3 separate regions of the Homo sapiens genome follow, and regions 1 and 2 are each linked to region 3. Evidence: promoter capture Hi-C in 16 types of primary human blood cells and fetal thymus (Javierre and others, 2016). All regions are on one chromosome and are shown on one strand. Each heading gives the region's core, a stretch centred on a gene start or on the middle of the fragment in contact. The rest is flanking DNA. Distances are from core to core; before and after follow the strand shown.

Region 1 (4,239 bases), core at 1,010-3,509, 4.1 Mb after region 3:
TGTGTAGTTGGAGCATTGACCTAACACTGCCTCTGGGTTAAGGAAAGAACAAAGTGTATAAAAGAACATGACTATATCCAATAGCTGTTTCTTTTACAGTTTAACGGCTTCAGAACTCCCTGTTCATTAACTTTAAAGCTTTATCAGTGTGCTTATCAGATTTCCCTATCAACAGTAAGAAAAAAAAAATAACTGAAAACTTCTTTGAAACATATTCATGAAAATAATTATTTTTTAAAAAATTCTAAAGTTTCTTATTTTAATAAGAAATTTAACCTTTGAATAATAGACAGCTTTTGGATTGTCTGTCCAATCTTCTTTCTACAAATTTCTCCTCCTACCTCCCCTAATCCATAGAGATTAAAATTCTGTGATTTAAATTACATAGTGGGTCACTTACAGCCTACCAGCTGGTGCTTCTGTCTTTTGGGAAATCAGAATTGGGATTCAGAAAGGATGGTCGAGTCTTTGATGTTTTCTAAAGTTGAGACAGGTAAACTCAGGGGCTATGGTGCTGTCACTGAGTACCAAATGAATGAAAAAGCAGGGAAAAATGACCATTTGAAAAGAGCAAAGAAGGAAACACACACATAGAAATAAGGAAAGAAGAAAATCCAGAAAGAGACAGAGAGTAATAGTAATGCCTGACAACTTTCTAGTTCCACATGAACACAGCAGTACTTCTACCCGTAGGTTCTACAACATTCCCCTGTATCCATATAAACCCTTCTCCATTGTAATACACTAGATTGCTGTGGGATGTTATTTCTTGAAGCCAAAAATCTTGACTCCAATAAGATGTTAACATTACAAAAATACAGGGAAAATTTTGATACAAAAAAAATTAGAATCCCAGCCAACAATAAAAAAAGCTGAAAAATGTAGCTATTACCCATGAGATACAATTTTAGATATAAGTGTGCATGCACGTGCACACATGCACACACACACACACACACACACACACACAAAACTGAAATATTTATCTTAAGCAGGGTCCATGCCTAGGAATTATAATGGTGTTTGTAGTAGATTGTGATATTATTTCAAAATATTAACTGCTTCTCATGACTTGCTTTGGTCAGTCCAAAATAAGCCCAAGTGACTTGTGGCATTGCCAAGCAGGAACCTTAATGCCACCTTGGCTTTCCTTTCCCTAGACCATACAAGAAAGAACAACAATGTAAGGTTGTGTTACAATAATGTGAGACTGTGTTACATGTCAATCTGCAATAGACATATAACATGAAATCAATCTATTTTGTTGTCACTGAAATTTAGAGGTCGATTGTCACTGCAGTATAACCTGGTAAAAACTGGTACATGTCTAAAATATTCTCATTATTAAAATGCTAATGGGTAAGAAAGTAAATATTTCATTTTGAAGTCCATTTGTTATTGCTAATAAGCTTATATTTTAAATAAGCTCTTTTAATTTTCAAGGTATCCTGCTGTTAATGATTTTAGGGGTCTTTACACAAATTAATTACCAAATGATATATTTATCACTTCCTCCACGTTTTTAAGAATTGCCAATACAGTTATCAAAAATACATATTTCTTCTTAAAACATATTTCAAAAACATTCTAATTTTAGTATATAGACTATATCTACTAATTTTAGTATATAGACTATATCTACTAATTTTAGTATATAGACTATATCTACTAATTTTAGTATATAGACTATATCTACTAATTTTAGTAGATAGACTATATCTACTAATTTTAGTAGATAGACTATATCTACTAATTTTAGTAGATAGACTATATCTACTAATTTTAGTAGATAGACTATATCTACTAATTTTAGTAGATAGACTATATCTACTAATTTTAGTATATAGACTATATCTACTAATTTTAGTAGATAGACTATACTAATTTTAGTAGATAGACTATACATACTAATTTTTGTATATAGACTATACTAAGTTCTAATTTTCCAATTTTAGTATATAGACTGTACTAAAAACTGAATGTTATAAAACTTATTAAAACATATCAATTGAGAAAAAGGTCTTGACACATTTTATATGGTCCTTACTTATTATGAAAACAACCTGATGCCAAGGATTCTGAGTCTTTCAAATAGTATAAACTAAAGCAATTGTTAATACTTATCCTACTTTCTTTGTTATTTTATAACACCAGTGACTTTAAGTTCTTATACAATCTAGATATTAACTCTACTTTTGTGTAAGTACCTTTTTCTTAAGACAATGTCATTTTTAATAGAGTTTTGGTAACTAGAAATAGTTAATAAATAAATATAAATTAGACATGAGGCCAATTCTATACATCCTGCCACTATGATTAACTGTGTGACCTCAGGTAAGGCATTTTACTTCTCTAAGCCAGTGAGCCTTCATCAGAAAAATGAAGATAATTAACTGTACCTACTGCATAATGAAGGAACCAGATAACACAATGTATGTTGTAATCTCTTAAATGTATTATAATTATTATTACTTACAACTGTATTAACCCTACAAGATACCTTGAGATGACCAGAATTTATATATCAAAGGTCAAAATCCAATGCTATATAATGTATTGCTATAACTCCTTATCTAAAAGAAGGGCCACATGATCACAACAGAGGCAGCAGTGATGGTTGCATACAATTTCTACAAACTTTAGTATGTACTTTAAACTGTTCAAGTGCCAAGTCATTTTGGAGACTAGGAGACTATCTCTACTTCTTTACTAACCCCACCATTACAACCACAATAAACCATGTTAATGAGAGAATTTATTCACGCAATTCACTTTTTAATTCTAGGTGCTCACTGAATAAACACTATCCCATCTCTTTTTTCTCTCTTTTTTTTTTTTTTTTTTGAGATGGACTCTCACTCTGTCACCCAGGCTGGAGTGCAGTGGGGCGATCTCCGCTCACTTCAACCTCTGCCTCCCAGGTTCAAGTGATTCTCCTGCCTCAGCCTTCCAAGTAGCTGGGATTACAAGCGCGTGCCACCACACCCAGCTAACTTTTTTTTGTAACACTCTCCCATTTCAACAACAAAAATACATTAATGTCCATAACAATAAAGAGATTAGAAAATAACTCCAGTGTTGTTTAAATTACATATGGTAATAAGCTTTTTGCATGTGTTTACTTATTTAATCTTCATAACAATTCTATGAGAAAGTTATTAATTATTCTATTATTCTGATTTTAAAAACAGAAACTGAGGGACAGATTAAGTGCCCCTAAACAACAACTTATAAGTAGCAAGGCCAGGTTTTGAACCTAGGCAAGCAGTATTGAAACTCCACTTCAACCAAATATTATTACACCTATATGGTTGAAGCAAAAAAGAATTTGGGGAAGAAATAAAACACAGTTATGCCAGGAAAACAAAAGAAAAGAAAATATTATTTCATTAGTGCACATCAAGTATATCTTTTAAGTAATTCCATTCACTTGAATTATTGAACTTTCATATTGGTAAAAATCTTGTGAAGGCCATCAACTAATACAAACATTGTTCATCTAAATCCATTACTTCCATTGCTACAATTTGTTTCTTTCATTGTTACTTTAACTTTGGAGAGTTCATTTTTATTTTACTTATGGGGGTGAGAAATTTTATCTGTGAGCCAGATTCTCTCCTTGATAATGAAAATGGACAGTTGGAAAAGCTAAAATCAAGAACAAATTAATGTACAGTAACTGTAACACTATAAATAACAGCTACAGCCTCAAAAGCAGATAATGGATACAGCACAGTACTATACAAGCATGCACCTGGAATGTATACATAAAGCATGTTTCTATTGTATCTCTTTAAGAATGAATATTTTTAAATGACAATGTATAAAACGTCCCAGGGAATGACCTATATAAATATATAACAACTTTGTGCAAATATTTAATGAAAGAAATATATTTTAGATTCTGATTTGAATGCCACTGACAATCTCTTGCAAGCTATTACTTTTATAAATATGGCATTCCATTTAAATAGAGAAATTTCAATTCATGATTTCAGCAATCATTTACTAGCTGGCAAAAAAAATTTTCCCAAATTTGAATCATATTTGAAAATGTCAAGAAAGAATCACAAGATTCAGTTTCATTTAAATAAATTTGACATATTCAAAAACTTGGAGCTTTTAAATTTAAAGAAATAAAAAACAAAGTATCCTAGCCCTAATATAAGATGAAGGTGACAAAAATCCATAATTTTCAAGAGAAAAGAGTCAACTATTTCTAAGGAAACTATTTGACTT
Region 2 (4,117 bases), core at 1,151-3,650, 3.9 Mb after region 3:
ATGTGAGCCACCGCGCCCGGCCTGAAGTTTTAGTTCAATATCTTTCTGAGATTTGAAATAAAAATATATTATTTACCAAAATAATCTCAAATATGTTACTATTTTAGAAAATATCTCATTATAAGTACCTGTTAAAGTTGTAATTTTTTAGGCAACAAAATTCATTCAAATAAGACTCAAAATTTTAATATTATCATAGAAAAGAGAGACTATTTCCAAAATCTTGGACAAAGAACAATTCCCTCTATCAGAGAACATTATCTTCATCTATTTTACTCTACTAAACAGCTTGGTGGAAAGAGATGAGAGTGAAGAGTGGCCATAAAAAAGAGATACTCTTTCAGCCAGCTAGTAAGTTAAAATCGTGTATTTATTTGAGCACCAAAGTGAAGCCATATTGCCCTGCTATCTGACCTAACTTTGAATATATACATAGAACATGTATTTTAACTAATAGAAAATCCAGATGGGTCAGCAGTTAGAAGGCTGGGCAAACACTCAAAAGGTAGCAGGGACCTAGTTGTCAAAATCAAGTTGATAAGTAAAATTCTAGTAATTTGAAGGTAAAAGGAGAAGGGAGAAGGGAGACTGCCAAGAATCCAGCCCTTCATGGGCACTGCATGAGGTCCAAGACAGAAATGCAGGCATGTAGGAAAATAAAATTCAGATAAGGACTGGAAAAATATCTTCCAAGATGATTTAATGGTAAGTCTCAAAAATTAGACCTCTTTAAATACCTGCTACCCAAGGTAAGGAATAGACTGTAGATAGCAACGAAGCTACAGCTATGGGTGAAGGTCAAATGGCGCCAATTTGAGAAAAACTTCAATGTCTTTTGACATCCTGGAATGGAAAGCTTGCTTGGCAGAATACTACTCAATGGAAAGAATACTAGCAGCATCTAGTGGCTGGCCTCTGTAAGTGCCCCTGGGCCTAGGTCCTAAGGTAGAAAAAGTGAGATCGTAAACATGGTGAGCTATTGATAGACTTTAATGTATTTCTTATTTCTAGGAGAATGACAGTAGAAGTAAGGGCAATTGTCTACACTACCACTTTCAAAGTATCATGGGAAACATAAAGAAGCATAAGGTATTCAAATAGTTTAACAGAACTCTGTTCCTGCTATAATTTACTCTGTTAGACCAAATCAGCAAAGTATGGCTGAGCATACTTACCTTTTCATATTTTTTATCAATCTACATATAGCATTAAAGTAATAAATAATTAATTTAGAAAGAATAACCTATGACATAATTCCTGTGCTCAAACTACATATGGTTATAGAGCCTGCTTGGATTCTACTTCCAGATCTACAACTGGTATTTTTCACTTACTTATTGCTGAAGTAGTCTCCATATTGTAATATTACATGGAAGAAGGATTTTCTTACTGTTTGGTATTTACCGTTTTAAATTATTTACGCTTAGTGATCAATATATGATTTTGATCAAAATCAAATGGTGATCAACATGATTTATCCTAAATGTTCTGAGAATCATTAAGACAAATTATTTGGTAGAAGTATTCTATTGAAGAAACAACTCTATGACAATTTTGCCAAATATCTGGGCATGATAGGGCATCAGTGTAGTTTTTCAAAGGAATGCACATTTAACAAAATATCAAAAGGATCTTAAGTGGATGGAAGAATCTTCTAACAAAGGAGTGTTAGATAGCTGAAAAAAATCAGTTAATTAAGCTCCCCTTTAAAGATAGAAAAGAAATAGAAATTACTTGAATTTTCATTTACTTGGCTGTTTTTAAAATATTAACAAGTCAGTTAAATCTCACCTCTAACTGCTATATTAGAATTTAGCTTTGATAAATAAGGATCATTCTTTTTCTGAATGCAGCAGAGTTGCAAGTTTCTTGTTAAAGCCTTTTAGAAGGTAGTTTTTTTTTTTTAATTCACAGCTCACTTCTCTTCTTTTCTTAATTAGTAGCTTGAATGTGATTTTCCCTTTTTAAAATTGAGCAGGCTGTGTTGCTAAATGGTGTTTTTGACATTCCTGCACTGGGGACAGATTCAAAACAGAGGCAGAAGACAATAGAGATTGACTACATACTTCATGGACCCAAATCGAGGCAAATGCTGGTAATTACAGGAATTCAGCAACACTTTGTTTGCTGGCATCTGTACTTGGAAAAGCAATGAAATAATCATGGACAAATATGATGTGAAATGTGTTTATGGAGCAGCATGTTTTATTAACACTGAGCACTGCGGAGAGATAAGCACCACTTGCTAATTTTAAAATTTCTATGAACTGTGGCAATTAAGCCTAATAATTATTTAAAGACTATAATAAAGATGAGACCATTTTGAACTGCGTTTAGAGAAAAGAAAAAGTGCTCAAGTTCAGTTTGTATGATACATCACCTATGCAATTTTTCCTATCTGTTATGATTTGAAATGGGAAACATTTCCTGACACATTCCCCTGAAATTTAAGGATTTATCAGTTTTCATTTTGCTGCTTTGTTAATTTTTTCTTGTTTTTGTTGTTGTTGTAACTATTTACTGGGAGTCTTTTGTACCTAGATGTTAATTTTATAGAGTGTTTCCAAACATTCTGGGGGCCATCAGAAAACAATAGGTCTAATTGAATAAAGCATTAAATATATTAACTTTTTCTTTCAGAATAGCAATTTTTCCACTTACAGATTATAATAAATAACAACAGGAAAGGCAGTGATTTTTCTGAGTCCTTTAGTGGCAAACTATTTCCAAAGTTTCAAAGAGACTTGTTAGAGCCCTGGGCAGAGTACAACACTGTCTTTCACTGTGTTAGCCCAGTGATAACAAAAACAGACTGGACATCAAAGCAACCAGAACGAACGCTGCAGGATTTAAAACACAAACAGACAGGAAATTGAATTACTGATCATTAATATTTATTTTAAAGAAAAGTTTAATATATTTCGCTTAATTTCCTGTGGAGAAAACAAAACATTTTATTCTCTCTTTTTGCCCCTCCATATTCTTATGCTATCCTTTGCAATTCGTTGTCATTTCTTGAGTTATTTTAAAAGATAAACTTGCACATTTTACTTTGCAGCATAATAAAATTAACGAATAGCTATGTTCTGAGTATAAACAAGGGAATGCCAAGGTTCATTCATCTCTCTTCTTCCCTCACAAAATAAGTTTATTATGGCATTTATACTGAAAGAAAATCATTTCTTTGGCACAGAAAAGGGATGCTGCCAATAATTACTTCTGAATCAGATTTCTGTCAATAGAAATGGAATATGATTGCCCCACCATCACCCCATAACAACAACAACAACAACAAAACCAGATGAGTTGATTAGCAACCCTGTGTCTATTGATTACATTCTTCTTGAACTGTCAGCAAGATCATTCCAAAATGTTGGTACGTATTCCCTAGTTGCAAAAGCAAATTCTGTAAAAAGGAACACGGAAAAACGGATTGTGTCAGTAGCGTATTTTCAATGCCTCTCTTTTTTATTTGCACTCACATAGCTGAAGAGGAACAGAGCTGGCTTTGGGCAGAAAGATGAAGTAGGAAATTTACACCCAGCTTTTTTCTGTGGTCTCTAATCTTCCTGAGTTGTGAATTTATCCCACTTCCAAACCTCCAATCCCTCACTGCCCCCACCCTCAACACATATACTTCAAACTCTCCTCTTTGTTTTAAAGTTAAAGGCTTAGAGCAATTTTTGACTCCCAACACAAATGATTCTAAGTCAAAAACTGATTTTTCCTGAGACGTGCATTTTAATTCAAATTTCTGTTTGTGGAATATAAAAATCATGTCCGGTTAGAGACAGGGAAAGGTGAAGTTATTGTTCAAAGACAAAAAGGTAAAGCTCAAAGTGGGAATAGGTTAGATTTCTGGGATGAAGTTCAGGCAGGTCTTTTTGTTTTGCCAAAAAAAATTTTACCAGCCACCTCTCAGACTGATTCTGAAGGCAAGCTTAATTCAGTTGTATCAGAGAAATGGGGAAAAAAAAAACAAAAACAAAAACAAAAAAAGTGTGCAGTACATGTGGGAAACCCACACACTTAATCTCATGTTGTCGCAAATTCAATGGGGCTCGTCCCATTAGAAAAGAAAAAAAAAGAATAAAAGAAGGAGGAAGGAAGAAAGCAA
Region 3 (4,600 bases), core at 1,726-4,225:
ATTTCCCATCAAATTCAACCCGGCCTGAGCGGCAGGCAATGCCCCTGCTGGGTGCGGATTGCAGGCCCACCACTGGAGGGCGTCTGGACGCTTCTAAACAGCTCTGAAGCGCCTGGAAATCCCGTCTGAGGACTGGAAAGCGCAGGAGGGTGAACGTGAGATTTGATTTTATTGGGCTAATAAGTAAAAAGGAGTGCAGGCAGGTGTGGGAGCAAAAGTAAACTGCCTTTTTTCTCCTGGGGATCTGCCCTTCCCACTAAGGCAGAAAACTCCCTAGGGAACATGAGAAAAAATACCGCTGCTCCCGAGCCCGCGGACCCCTTAAGGGCGGGTCTCGGGGGCCTGTGGCCCCGCAGAGCAGGCGTCGGGCTCACTTCCTGGGCGCTGGACGACAGTGGGGACGCGTCCCGAGGCGCTGGGACAGTCTCGCTGCCAGGAGATCGCTCTTCAGTGGCGGCTGAAGACCAGGCTTGCAACCTGCCCTTGAAGTCCAGGACCGAGGGGCCTTTTCCAACAATAAAGGAACTGCTTTTCTTCCCACAGCCCCCGCCCCCGGCCCTCATTTCTTTCCGCACCGGGTTCGATAAAGGCGTTTATTCTTTGGGGAGTGGGCAGCAAATCACCCTCAAGGTTGAAATGGAAGAGGTGTGAGGTTATTTCTGAAGGGCTCGTCTGCCGCATTCATTTCCTCTCTGTGGAAGGTTCGCGCTGAATTGTAATCACTTTAAACTGTGATTTGCCTGATTTTTAAAAACGTGTTTTCAGAGCATCACTTTAAAGAAAACTTGCTTCCTGCCCAAGAATCTTTAAATCCCAAGTGGGAAGAGGAGGGCTGAAAGGCACAGGAGGGGTGCTCAGACTTCCAGATAACCCAGCGCCAGGCAGCGTGCGGCGTGGAGAGCGGGTGGAATGGACAGGAACGCGCACTCCCTGAGGCTCCGTTCCAGCCCATCCGTCACCTGCGGGGCACCAGAGACAGATGCCGGCTCTCCAGCCAAAGGGTGGGCACAGGTTCCTTTAAAATCGAAAGACCCTACTCCCAGGTAAAAAGATGTCAAATCATTCCTTAGCCCAGACGGAATTCAGCACCCAAAGGGTTACACGTGGCTGCCGGGCTCCGGCGCAGGAGAGGGCGCCTCGGCACTCCCAGTAATTCAATTAGTCAGGTTTCTAGAAGGTGGGGCGGGGGAGGGGGTAGGAGGCGTGGGGAAGGGAGATTAGGAAAACGCCTCTTTCTCGTGGAGCAAACCAATCCGGTTGGAGTAAAGAGAGAGGAAAAACCCCCAATCTGTAAGCAAACAGTAGGCCGTTCCCTGACTGGTTGCTCCAGCTATCCCCCCACCGCGCTCCCACCCTTCCCAAGTAAACTGCTTGGAAGGAGGAAAAAAAAAAAAAAAAAAAAAAAGACAGTCCACATGACCCGGGCCGCAGCGGCAGCAGCGCTGGCTGGGCGCGGGCTGGCGGCACCTCCCCCTGCTTCGTCCGGAGCTCACACCCGCGCTCGCGCCGCCCGCCCGTCCCGCGTCCCGCGCAACACGCCCGGGCGGAGCCCCATCCCCCCGCCCACGTCCACGTTCACGCGTGCGGCCTCGCGCTCTGCTGAGGCTGCTGCCACTGGGTCGCCGCCGCTGTCGGCTTTCCACGCAAGTCATTAACGAGGGGGCGTGCCCGAGGAGATTTTTTTTCCCATAAAGCATTTTTTCTCTCGCTCTCTTTTTTTCCCCCTCTTTTGCAAAACTGACTTTTACAAAACCCTTTCCACTTCTTGCCAGTCGTTTCAATTCCTCCTGGGCTGCTCGTGCTGCTGCTGCTGCACTCAAGTTTATTTATTTTCCCGCCTGGGTAGGGGTTTTAGGATTCGGTTTGTGGTTTTCACCTCTGTTGCTGCTGTGCCTAAGGAGGGAAAGAGGAGCAGCTGCGGGAGGATCGGGAAGGTTTTCTGATGTAGTCATCGGGGAGGTGCCACTCGCTCGTGCGCTTTTTTTTTTTCCTCTTTTCCCATTTCAAACTGATTGATGCATCTCTACAAGTTGCTAGGCTTGGACCCGCTGGAGTCGCAGGGACACTTCTGAGAGCTCACCCCGGGCTCTTGGCACCGCGTGTGGGGGCTCAGTCTCCCTCTCGGAAGGCGATCGGAGACTGACATCGGCCCATCCAGGAGTTGGAGGGATCCATTTGAAAGTGATTGTTTCCCCTCCCGCTCTCCAGCCGAACAGTTGGGTTGGCGTCGTCTTGCAGGTTTAGGAATCCCAGCTCTGCCAGGCCGGCTGGTCTTAACCTCTGCTCTTCATTCACTGTGGTGCACCCACACCCAGCCAAGGAAAGCACGCGCGAGAAATCCCCGAGGCTCGGCCAGCCCCCGGGGTGCCCTCTTCCGCTACCGCCGCGTTCCGACTCTGCTGGGGGACCTGCCGGAAGACGCGAAGAGCCAAACTTTTCTTTGAGGTTTTCGAGGCAAGACCGCTTCGAAAGCCGGCGCAGCTGCCGCTTAACCAGTTCCAGGACACCGACAAGGCTGGGTTGCGGCTCCGGATCCCCACCCTTCTCGGCGCACCGCCCGGTACCGCAGCACTTACGACTCCTCTGAGATTTCTGGGGGTCGCCCCGCTAAGGCACAGAGGAGGCTGAGGAAAGGGGTTCTCAGACTCCCGGGACCACAAGCGCGAAGCCCTCTATCAGCACGTCGCCCTTCTCCTGCAGTTTCCCACCGGCCGCCAAAGTAACTTGGAGCGAAGCGTGGCGCAGTGCGAGGGCCCCGGGCGGTGGCGGAGCCGTGCGTAGCCTGCTGCGCCGACGCTGAGCCGGGCCCGGCGGGCCGGTGTATGTCTCCCCGCGGCTGCGGCGCGCAACTCCCGGTGACTGTGCAGCGCGCGCCGCCGCCTGCCCCGACCCGCGCTGCAGCCGCCCGGCCCGGCGCGCACCTCCCTCTCCCGGGGTGACCGGCCTGCCGCCGCCGCCCGAGACACAGCTTGGCACCTCTTCCCCCGCCCTCGCCGCCGCCACCACACACACGCACGCTTCTCTCCATCTTGTGATTCCTTTTTCCTCCTGAACCCTCCAGTGGGGGTGCGAGTTTGTCTTTATCACCCCCCATCCCACCGCCTTCTTTTCTTCTCGCTCTCCTACCCCTCCCCAGCTTGGTGGGCGCCTCTTTCCTTTCTCGCCCACTTTCATTTTTATTTATTCATATTTATTTGGCGCCCGCTCTCTCTCTGTCCCTTTGCCTGCCTCCCTCCCTCCGGATCCCCGCTCTCTCCCCGGAGTGGCGCGTCGGGGGCTCCGCCGCTGGCCAGGCGTGATGTTGCACGTGGAGATGTTGACGCTGGTGTTTCTGGTGCTCTGGATGTGTGTGTTCAGCCAGGACCCGGGCTCCAAGGCCGTCGCCGACCGCTACGCTGTCTACTGGAACAGCAGCAACCCCAGGTAAGCCGATAACAGGCGGAGAGCCAGGGCTACCCGGGCCTCGGGGCCCTGCGGAAGGAGCGGCGGCGGGGATCGGCGCGCACCAACCGCTGGCGGCGCGCACCCTCGGAGCCTGCGTCGCCCGGGCGCTGATGGCTTGAGGCGTCGGCGGGAAGCGCTCGCGTCGCGCCCCTCTTTGTTAAGCCGCCGCGGAAAGGCCAGGTACCCCTGGGAGTCCCCGGGGCTGCCTAGACCAACTGCTTCTGCGGGGCGCCGGGAGACTCGGAAAAGGGCGGGAGCCGGGGAGTAGGGACTTCTCTGCTTCCCAGCCCCGGCATCTGGCTGGCATCCGGTTCCCGGCGCGGGGAGCCCCCAGTGTGCGCAGCCGGGAGCTCCTTCCTGGAGCGTGGGTCCGCAGGGACTGCGGAGAGAACCCGCCAAACATCCCCCAAAGTTTTTTTTTTTTTTTTTTTTTTTTTAATTTTAATTTTCCCTTCTCTTTTCCCGGTGCGCGCAGAGAGAGCGCACGGGCTGGGGGAAGTGAGGGGGGCTGGGAAGCGGAAGCTTTAGGTTTTTATTTTCCTCTTCAACTGCGAGGAAATCATTCGGCCCCTGAGTCAGTCTGGGCCCGGCGCGCCTGGCAGTGGAGAGGATTCTCCCATCTTCTCCATCCCTCCACCCACCCCAGTGGGTTCAAGGTGCCAGAAAGTTTGATCTAATGCCGGGTTACGTCATGTGTGCAGAACAAGCTGCCAGAGTTGGCCGAGCCAGGAGGTGGGAGCCCTTCGCCCGCGGCCTGGCGATGTGCTGCCGGAGGAACGCGCGCGATTACCTGGAACCGATTTGTAGGCGTCCCGAAGCCCGCCGGGTATGCGGGAGACTAGAGGTGGGCGCCGGGGGCGGTCCTAGTGCGCGTGCTGGACACCGGCCAGTCGCAGACGTCCCGTGTTTTCGGACCCTGGAAGTGGAGTGGGGAGGTTATCCAGAGTGCCCGGCGGGGTCCTCCGGGTCTGGAGCAGTTCCGAACCTTTATTGCTTCCCGGCCTGTGCACAGAAGTCGGCCCCGCTAGGCCCATACCGCACTGCTTTCTCTGGGACAGAGGCTAGCTTCCAGCTGTGTGCCGGTCTCGGTGCCCTCCTAGGTGCTATTTATTAATAGTACCGATTGCATCTAAAGTCACAGGTTTTTCACTGGGCT

The links. Contacts are between HindIII fragments. The CHiCAGO score rates a contact against its expected background, and 5 or more counts as called.
Region 1: a fragment that was not itself captured here is called in contact with the fragment with the promoter of EFNA5 in region 3 in 2 of 17 cell types (M2 macrophages and M0 macrophages); the score reaches 10.9 in M2 macrophages.
Region 2: a fragment that was not itself captured here is called in contact with the fragment with the promoter of EFNA5 in region 3 in 1 of 17 cell types (endothelial precursors); the score reaches 5.5 in endothelial precursors.

What each region holds. Positions count from the first base shown.
Region 1 is chr5:103,577,580-103,581,818 of GRCh38, reverse strand. No RefSeq gene overlaps it. Among named protein-coding and RNA genes, the nearest start is that of NUDT12, 17 kb to the right of the region's middle. The HindIII fragment of the contact is 1,695 bases long and covers 1,412-3,106 here.
Region 2 is chr5:103,805,449-103,809,565 of GRCh38, reverse strand. The region is part of intron 2 of LOC105379107 (a long non-coding RNA gene); the gene reads right to left. Among named protein-coding and RNA genes, the nearest start is that of NUDT12, 240 kb to the right of the region's middle. The HindIII fragment of the contact is 3,084 bases long and covers 859-3,942 here.
Region 3 is chr5:107,669,312-107,673,911 of GRCh38, reverse strand. EFNA5 (ephrin A5) reads left to right here and starts at 2,975. Exons shown (of 5, transcript NM_001962.3): 1 at 2,975-3,423. The coding sequence starts at 3,299. RefSeq lists silencers at 12-91, 1,463-1,532, 2,893-2,942, 3,513-3,582 and enhancers at 172-221, 123-622, 2,363-2,502, 3,213-3,342, 3,743-3,822. The HindIII fragment of the contact is 4,319 bases long and covers 1-3,968 here.